2 separate regions of the Homo sapiens genome follow, and region 1 is linked to region 2. The links are contacts of gene promoters, found by promoter capture Hi-C in human tissues and cell types (Jung and others, 2019). All regions are on one chromosome and are shown on one strand. The core of a region is centred on a gene start or on the middle of the fragment in contact, and the rest is flanking DNA. Distances in the headings are between cores, read along the strand shown.

The links. Contacts are between HindIII fragments. The study calls those that stand out against the background at their distance.
Region 1: a contact is called between a fragment that was not itself captured here and the fragment with the promoter of ABHD12B in region 2, in 2 of the 25 tissues and cell types used here (lymphoblastoid cells and spleen).

What each region holds. Positions count from the first base shown.
Region 1 is chr14:50,580,731-50,584,416 of GRCh38, forward strand. All of the region lies in intron 1 of ATL1 (atlastin GTPase 1), which reads left to right. Among named protein-coding and RNA genes, the nearest start is that of ATL1, 22 kb to the left of the region's middle. The HindIII fragment of the contact is 6,629 bases long and covers 1-3,686 here.
Region 2 is chr14:50,869,578-50,873,601 of GRCh38, forward strand. ABHD12B (abhydrolase domain containing 12B) reads left to right here and starts at 2,476. Exons shown (of 13, transcript NM_001206673.2): 1 at 2,476-2,701. The coding sequence starts at 2,598. The HindIII fragment of the contact is 9,841 bases long and covers 1,561-4,024 here.

The DNA.
Region 1 (3,686 bases), core at 839-3,338, 290 kb before region 2:
TGAGAATGGTCTCTTATTTTCTGTTTCTTAGAAGTTTGTGTAAGATTGCTCTTCGTTGTTTTCTAAATGTTTAGAAGAGTTCACCAGGGAAGCTGAGCCTGGAATTTCCTTTGCATGAAGGTTTTAAATTATGAATTTAATTTTTTCTAGGTATAACAGTATTCATAGTTATTTGTCTTATGTGGTTTTTTTATAAGTGATACTTTTAATTTGTTCATTTCATCAGAGTTATCAAATTTATTGTCATAAAATTACTCATAATATCCCCATATTATTTTAAAAAATCTGTAGGATCTATAGTATCTTTTTTTATATCTAATATGAGTAATTTGTGGGTTTTTTCTCTTATTTTCTTTGATCAGTCTTATATTATTAAGTTAATCTCACTGATCTTGATTTCTAGTTCATTTATTTTTGACCATTATTTCCTATCTTTTCTTGTCTTTGAATCTAATTTGATATTCTTTTTACTGTTTCTTGACATAGATATTAGCTTATGATTTTTTTCAAGCATCTTTACTACTTTATGCATTTCAAAGTTTAAGTTTCCTCTAAGCAAGTTTTTTATATGTCATATTTTAAATATTTCAATATAAATAAGATACTACGACCTAACATATTGATTCAATATTTATATGAAAAGGGTCAAAATAGCCAAGACTGATAGTAATTAGAAGATAAGAGGGCTTGTCCTATTAACATATAATGGCTTTTCATAAAGCTATTTTAATGAATATAGTGTAGTATTGGTGCTGTCAAAGACAAATTGACAAATAGATCAGAACATTCATCAGATCATTTAGTTCACAATATTTTCTAGTTTTCATTGTACTTTCTTCTTTATTCCATAGGTTATTTAGATTTATTGCTTAATTTCCAAACATTTAGAGATTTTCTTAATATCTTCTTGTTACTGATTTCTGGTTTAATTCCTTTATGATGAGATAACATATTCTTTCTTACTGTAATTCTTTGAAGTTTATTGAGATCTGATTTATAAGCCAGTACCTAGGCTATTTGGTAAATGTTCCATATGAACTTAAAAAGAATGTGTGGTTCTATAATTACTAGATGTCAGATAGGTAAGGCTGGCTACTGGCTAATGATGCTGTTCAAATCTGCATATTTACTGATTTTTGTCTGAATTTTAAGGCAGTGAAAAGAAAATTCCTAGAAAGATAGAATGAACTAGAAGTATTTCAAGAACTATCAAGCTTTATTGGTACTAATATCACAATAGCAATAATAACTATTAAAGAAATTGAAATGGCCAGTCGCGGTGGCTCATGACTGTAATCCCAGCACTTTGGGAGGCCGAGGCGGGCGGATCACTTGAGGTCAGGAGTTTGAGACCAGCCTGGCCAACATGGTGAAACCCCATCTCTACTAAAAATACAAAAAATTAGCCGGGCATGGTGGCACGTGCCTGTAGTTCCAGATACTTGGGAGGCTGAGGCAGAATTGCTTAAACCCGGGAGGCAGAGGTTGCAGTGAGCCGAGATCGCGCCACTGCACTCTAGCCTGGGTGACAGAGTGAGTCTCCATCTCAACAAAAGAAATTTAAATGACAGTTAAAAATCATCTCACAAAGAAAACACCAGGTTCACAAAGTTTTACAGGTGAGTTCTATCAAAATTTCAAAGAACCGTTCACTCCAATCTTTTATTACAAACTTTTCTCTTTTTTTTTTTTTCCATAAGACGGAGTCTCACTCTGTCACCCAGGCTGGCGTGCAGTGGTGTGATCTCAGCTCACTGCAACCTCTGCCTTGTGGGTTCAAGTGATTCTCCTGCCTCAGCCTCTCAAGTAGTTGGGACTACAGGCACGCACCACCATGCCTAGATAATTTTTGTGTTGTTGTTTTTTTTTTTTTTTAGTAGAGACGGGGTTTCACCATCTTGGCCAGGTTGGTCTCAAACTCTTGACCTCAAATGATCCACCCGCCTCGGCCTCCCAAAGTGCTGGGATTACAAGTGTAAGCCACCATGCCCAGCTGCTAATTCATTTTATAAAGCTTGCATAACTTATATAATAAAACCACCCAAGGACAAAATAAGAAAGGAAAGTCATAGGCAACTCATTTATGAATATACATGCACAATTCCTAAACAAAATCTTAGCAAACTGAATCCAACATTATACTATACCCTGAGACTATTAGGTTTATATAAAAAGTGCAAATATATATTATTTGCTACACTGATATGTTGGATGTGAAAAGCTATATGATCACCTCAATAGATGCAGAAGAGATTATTTGATAAAATTCATTATTTGTTTGTGATTTTTAGAAACCCTTAGTAAACTACACATAGAATTTCCTTCATCTGATATGATAAAATGTATCTACCAAACCAAGCCCAACAAAACTGTAACAAAAGTAACCCCAATAGGCAAATATTGGAGACATTCCCTTTAAAATCAGGAAGTTATGCCTACTGAAATCAAAAGTTATGCCCATTATCACCTCTTCTATTCAACATTGCCTTGAATGTCTAATAAGTTAAGAAAAAGAAAAGACATACATAAAGATTGAAAAGTTGGAAACTGTCATTATTTGAAAATTGTATTTCTGTTTCTACATTTAAAAAACCCAAAAGTATCTACATAAATTTTACAGGAAATAATAAAGTTTAGTAAATGCTTCAATATGAGACCAATGCATTAAAGCTAATTATAGTTCTTTATCCAAACAACAACTAGAAAGTATAACTAAAACAACAACAAATAAACCAGTCATAGTTAGCAACAAAAACTACAGTGCACCTGGGACTAAATGTAATAAACCTCTTCCTACTCCCCCAAATTATAAAAACATTACCAAAGGGAATTAAAGACCAAACATAGATGGAGAGCTAGATCATGTTAATGTATTAGAAGACTTAATAGCATGAAGGTACTGATTCATTTCAAACTGATCTATAAATGTAACTTCAGTAAAGAGTTCAACTAACAGATTGATTTTAATATTTATATGGAAAGGGTTAAAATAGCCAAGACCAATAATAATTAGAAGGATAGGAGGTGCTTGCCATATTATATACAGTAACTTTTTATGAAGCTATTTTGAATAGGATAGTGTAAAATTGGTGCTGGTGTAGAGAAATTGATGAATGGATCAGAACTGAGAGCTCAGAAATGAGTCAGTGTGTATGTGGGGGTGTGTGTTTGTGTAAAACTCTTACTTATGACAAAGATCTCATGGCAGACCACTTGAGGAAAGAAGGGGCTTTGACAGAGCTCTGAAAAAATTTGTTTCTCATATTTAAAAAAGAAATGGCTTTTATCTTCCACCCTACAAATAACAACTTCTGATGGACTAGGAACTTAAGTATCAAAAGCAAACTTTAAAACATAGAAAAGTCTGGGCACCGTGGTTCATCCCTGTAATGCCAGCACTTTGGGAGGCCAAGGCACGTGGATCACTTGAGTCCAGGAATTTGAGACCAGCCTGAGCAACATGGTGAGACCCCATCTCTACAAAAAATACAGAAATTAGTGGGACTTGGTGGTTGTGTGTGCCTGTAGTCCCATCTACTCGGGAGGTTGAGGTGGGAGGATCGATTGAGCTCAGGAAGCAGAGGTTGCAGTGAGCTGAGCTCACACCACTGCACTCTGCCTGGGTAACAGAGTGAGACCCTGTCTCAAAAAACAACAAACAAATAAACTTAGAAGAATATATGTGA
Region 2 (4,024 bases), core at 1,226-3,725:
CATCAGCTTTGTCTTAACATTTATACAACATGACATAGGACATGTTCATTTATATAGTTTATCTGTACATTTCTTAGGTCACTTTTCAAAAGTCAGGTTTGTTGAGGTATAATTCATATTCAGTCAAATTCACCTGTGAGTTATATGCATTGGTGGATATTTATAGTAACCACCACCACACTTGAGATGTTGACTATTCCCATCACTCTAAAATGTCCCTTCGCACCCCTTTGTAGTCAACCTCCCCTCCCCACCTCCAGCCCCTGCTATCCCCTGATTTAATCTCTACCCTTAAGACACTTTTCATTTCCTGTTCTGTGTTCTCATGGTTCATCCTGAAATGAATCTCTACCAGCTGGGATCCTGATTTGTATCCCTACGGTGCCCAATGTGGTACCTGGTACCTAAAAGGTGCTCAGTAAATGGGTGCTGAATAAATGAATGCATATTTTGTTTTTCAGGTTCTATCAAATCATATGGGAGACTTTGTTCCCTGATTTCCAGGATGTGCCATTTGAAAGGGGCTATTTATACTGGGAAAGACCTTCTTGCAGAGTCTTATGCAACCTTTCAAAAAATGGGCCATAGTGATTTCCAATTTCAGAGATTTTTGCTGAGCATTTCAAACATATCCCTAGACTTGGGGCTTACAACTTTGTTCATCCAGCAAGTAGATGGAAATATCCTCTCTCAACCTGAGCAAGTAGATGGAAATAGACTCTGGGACCATATGCAGCTGTTCTTCTCTCCTCCAAGCTCTCCTCCCCATCTTTGATCCCTCCATCTCCACTTGGCATGGCCCCAGAGTCCCATCCAGAGCTTCCCTGAACAAGTTCTGGGAGATTCCAGACCACGTTTATGAAGAACTCCAAGGGTAGAGCCGACATCTGCTTGAAGCTTTCTCATCATGCAGGTTGTGGCTCTGTGAAAACCCACCTGCTGCTGGCTCATCAGTCAGGCTTGGATCCCATTGGTCCTTTCTGAGCTAATTCCTCTTCTATCTTGATGTGTGTGAATCAGAAACTGAACATTCCAGCCAGGTGTGGTGACAGAGACCTGTAATCCCAGCACTTTGGGAGGCCGAAGTGGGAGAATTGCTTGAGGCCAGGAGTTTGATAGCAGCCTGGGCAACATAGTGAGATCTCATCTCTATACACACAAGCGTGCGTGCGCGCGCGCACCAGGCATAGTGGTGCATGCTTGTAGTCCCAGCTACTTGGGAGGCTGGAGTGGAAGGATTGCTTGAGTCCAGGAGTTCAAGTGAGTTCAAGTACAGTGAGCTATGATTGCACCACTGCACTCCAGCCTCAGTGACAGGGTAAGACCATGACAAGAAAGAAAGAAAGAAAGAAAGAAAGAAAGAAAGAAAGAAAGAAAGAAAGAAAGAAAGAAAGAAAGAAAGAAAGAGAAAGAAAGAAAGAAAGAAAGAAAGAAAGAAAGAAAGAAAGAAAGGAAGGAAGGAAAGAGAAAGAAACAAAGAAAACAAACATTCCCAGAGCAAGTATAAGAGTATTAACAGGCAGTGAACAAAATCCCCCTTTGCCCTGACAGTTCCATGAAATGAGCTAGTACTCAAAGAAAACTTCCCTTTCTTGAAAAGTGTGGGTATTTTCCCCCAGACCATCTTACTATCCTCAAGCAGATGGGTTTCCACGCACTTTCTGGTGCTGACAGCCCCCTGCTGTGCCCTCTGAACACAGACACTACAAAAAACCCATTTCACCTCTTAAGATTTGCACCTTGCCTCCAAGATGAAGCCTTGATGCTGGCATCCGAATGTATCCAAATAAAACCTAATTCCCTTTCTTCCTCCTTTGTCCCCACACATGCAGGCCGTGGCTTCCCTAGAGTAGCTCTGGTAGACAGTTCCTGCTCCTAGGAGACAGTTGCACAATGTAAACCTGCACCAAGATGTAAACCTGTACCAAGGTCAAAGTTTCAAGGTGTGAACTCCTTGGTACAATGATGAGGTTCTGCTACATGCTGCTACGTAAACAAAATACCGAAAAGGTCTTAATTTTTTGCTACATGGAGTAATTGTGTTCATAACCCCACGTGGACAGACAAATCATTAGTAAATCAAAGGGAGCCAAAGAAATTCTTTCTATAGTAAGGGTGACAGGGTGGGGGGCTGTGAGGATTTTGGGGGTGGATGGGGAATTGGAGACAAGGAGGCTTCAGAAAAAGAGAAAAAGAAAAAAGTGAGGTTTAAGTAGAGGAAAGCTTATATTCTTCATGAAAATCAAAAGCTGTGGCGGTCAAACTTTTGTGTTAGTAGTACCATGGTGAAAACATATTTTACTGCGTTGCGCGCGCCTCACACCCACACACACACAGAAGTATAATGGAAATCAATTTAAAATAAAATGTAGCATAGCTAGCTATAAGCTTAGGACATCTGTGTGTGTGTGTGTGGCCGCGAACAGCCTGACCCGGGCGGAGCGCACCCTCGGGCCGCGTCTCCCCCGCCGTACCAGCCTGCCTGACCGCGCGGAGGAGGAGGGCGGGCGCGGTGCCGCCGGGGCGGGAAGGTCGCGGGCGGCTGCTCCGGACTGCAGCTCCCGCGGCGGTGGCGGCGTATCGGGACACGGCGCGGGATGGACGCGCAGGACTGCCAGGCGGCCGCATCGCCCGAGCCGCCCGGGCCCCCAGCCCGTAGCTGCGTGGCCGCCTGGTGGGACATGGTCGACCGCAACCTGCGGTGAGTACCGCCCGGTCCACCCCTGGCCGGGCCCCGACGGCTCAGGCTGCGCGGGGATGGGGCAGGGGGCCAGGGCGCGGCCGAGGCCGCAATCCCCTCTGCTGGCCCGGGCCCAAGGCCCAGCATTGTGGCTTCCGGGGGACCTCGGCGGCCCCCTGAGAACTCTAGGGCTCTTTGGTTGCCCTTGCTATCCTCAGCCTCAATCCCAACCTGGACCAGCGAGACTCTCAGGTTTGGTATTTCAGGAAGTTATAACTTTTGGGGGCTTCTGAAATACAGATGCCAGGGAGATGGTTGAATTCCTACACCAATCTCTATTATCTGACCATTTTGCTAACATACAAGATGGATCTGAATGACATTAGTAATAGTGACAATAGTAATATATGTTGTAATCTTGGACGGGATCCTCTTAGGTCAAGGGCCTATCTGTGTAGGTGGAAAAGAATCAGAAAATCCGTGCCTAGTTCCCTGAGTGTGAACTCCCTGGCATGTATTTAAAGAAAACACCTCCAGTATGCTAAAGATGTACATAGTGTGTTGAAACCATAACTTGGCATTACCTGTGCCAAGTTCTTATGTTGTTTAAGTCTGAAATGTATCAGTGGGTGTTTCGGGTTTTGTTTCTGTTTTCTTCCTCCCATGGATCCTCGGTTTAAACAGTAATCTTAAATTACCTGAATCCACCTGCAACATATTGTCAGTCTTGTTTGCACTGAAGCCAGGTATTGGTTGGAGATCGTGGACCCAGGACACGTGGGTATTTCATTTAGTTTTGTTGGTGTGGGAAGGTATTGGCATTTTTACTTCCCTCTTTCTATTCCTTTTGTTTAATTTGTGCTGATTAGAAAATATCCAAAAATTACATCCAGACACAGGAGACCTCACTTTGGAGTGCCCAGAGTGATGATGACAAACGGGGATCTTTTCTCTCTCTCTCTCTCTTTTTTTTTTCTTTTTTGAGACAAGGGTTTCACTCTGTTGCCCAGGCTGGAGTGCAGTGGCACAATCTTGGCTCATTCCCAGGGCTCCAGCGATCCTCCCGTCTCAGCCTCCCCAGTAGCTGGGACTACAGGCACCTGCCACCACACTGAGCTGATTTTTGTATTTTGTGTAGATATGGGTTTTCACTACATTGTTCAGGTTGGTCTCAAACTCCTGGAGCTCACAGATTCCACCTGCCTTGGCACCCCAAAGTGTTGGGATTACAGGTGTGAGCCACTGCACCTGGTCTCTTTTCTCTTCTATTCCTTTTTATTCTCATTGCAGACAGCAGAGTGCTGGCAGCTCTGCAGGGGCCCAGTCACCTAGAACCCATGCCTC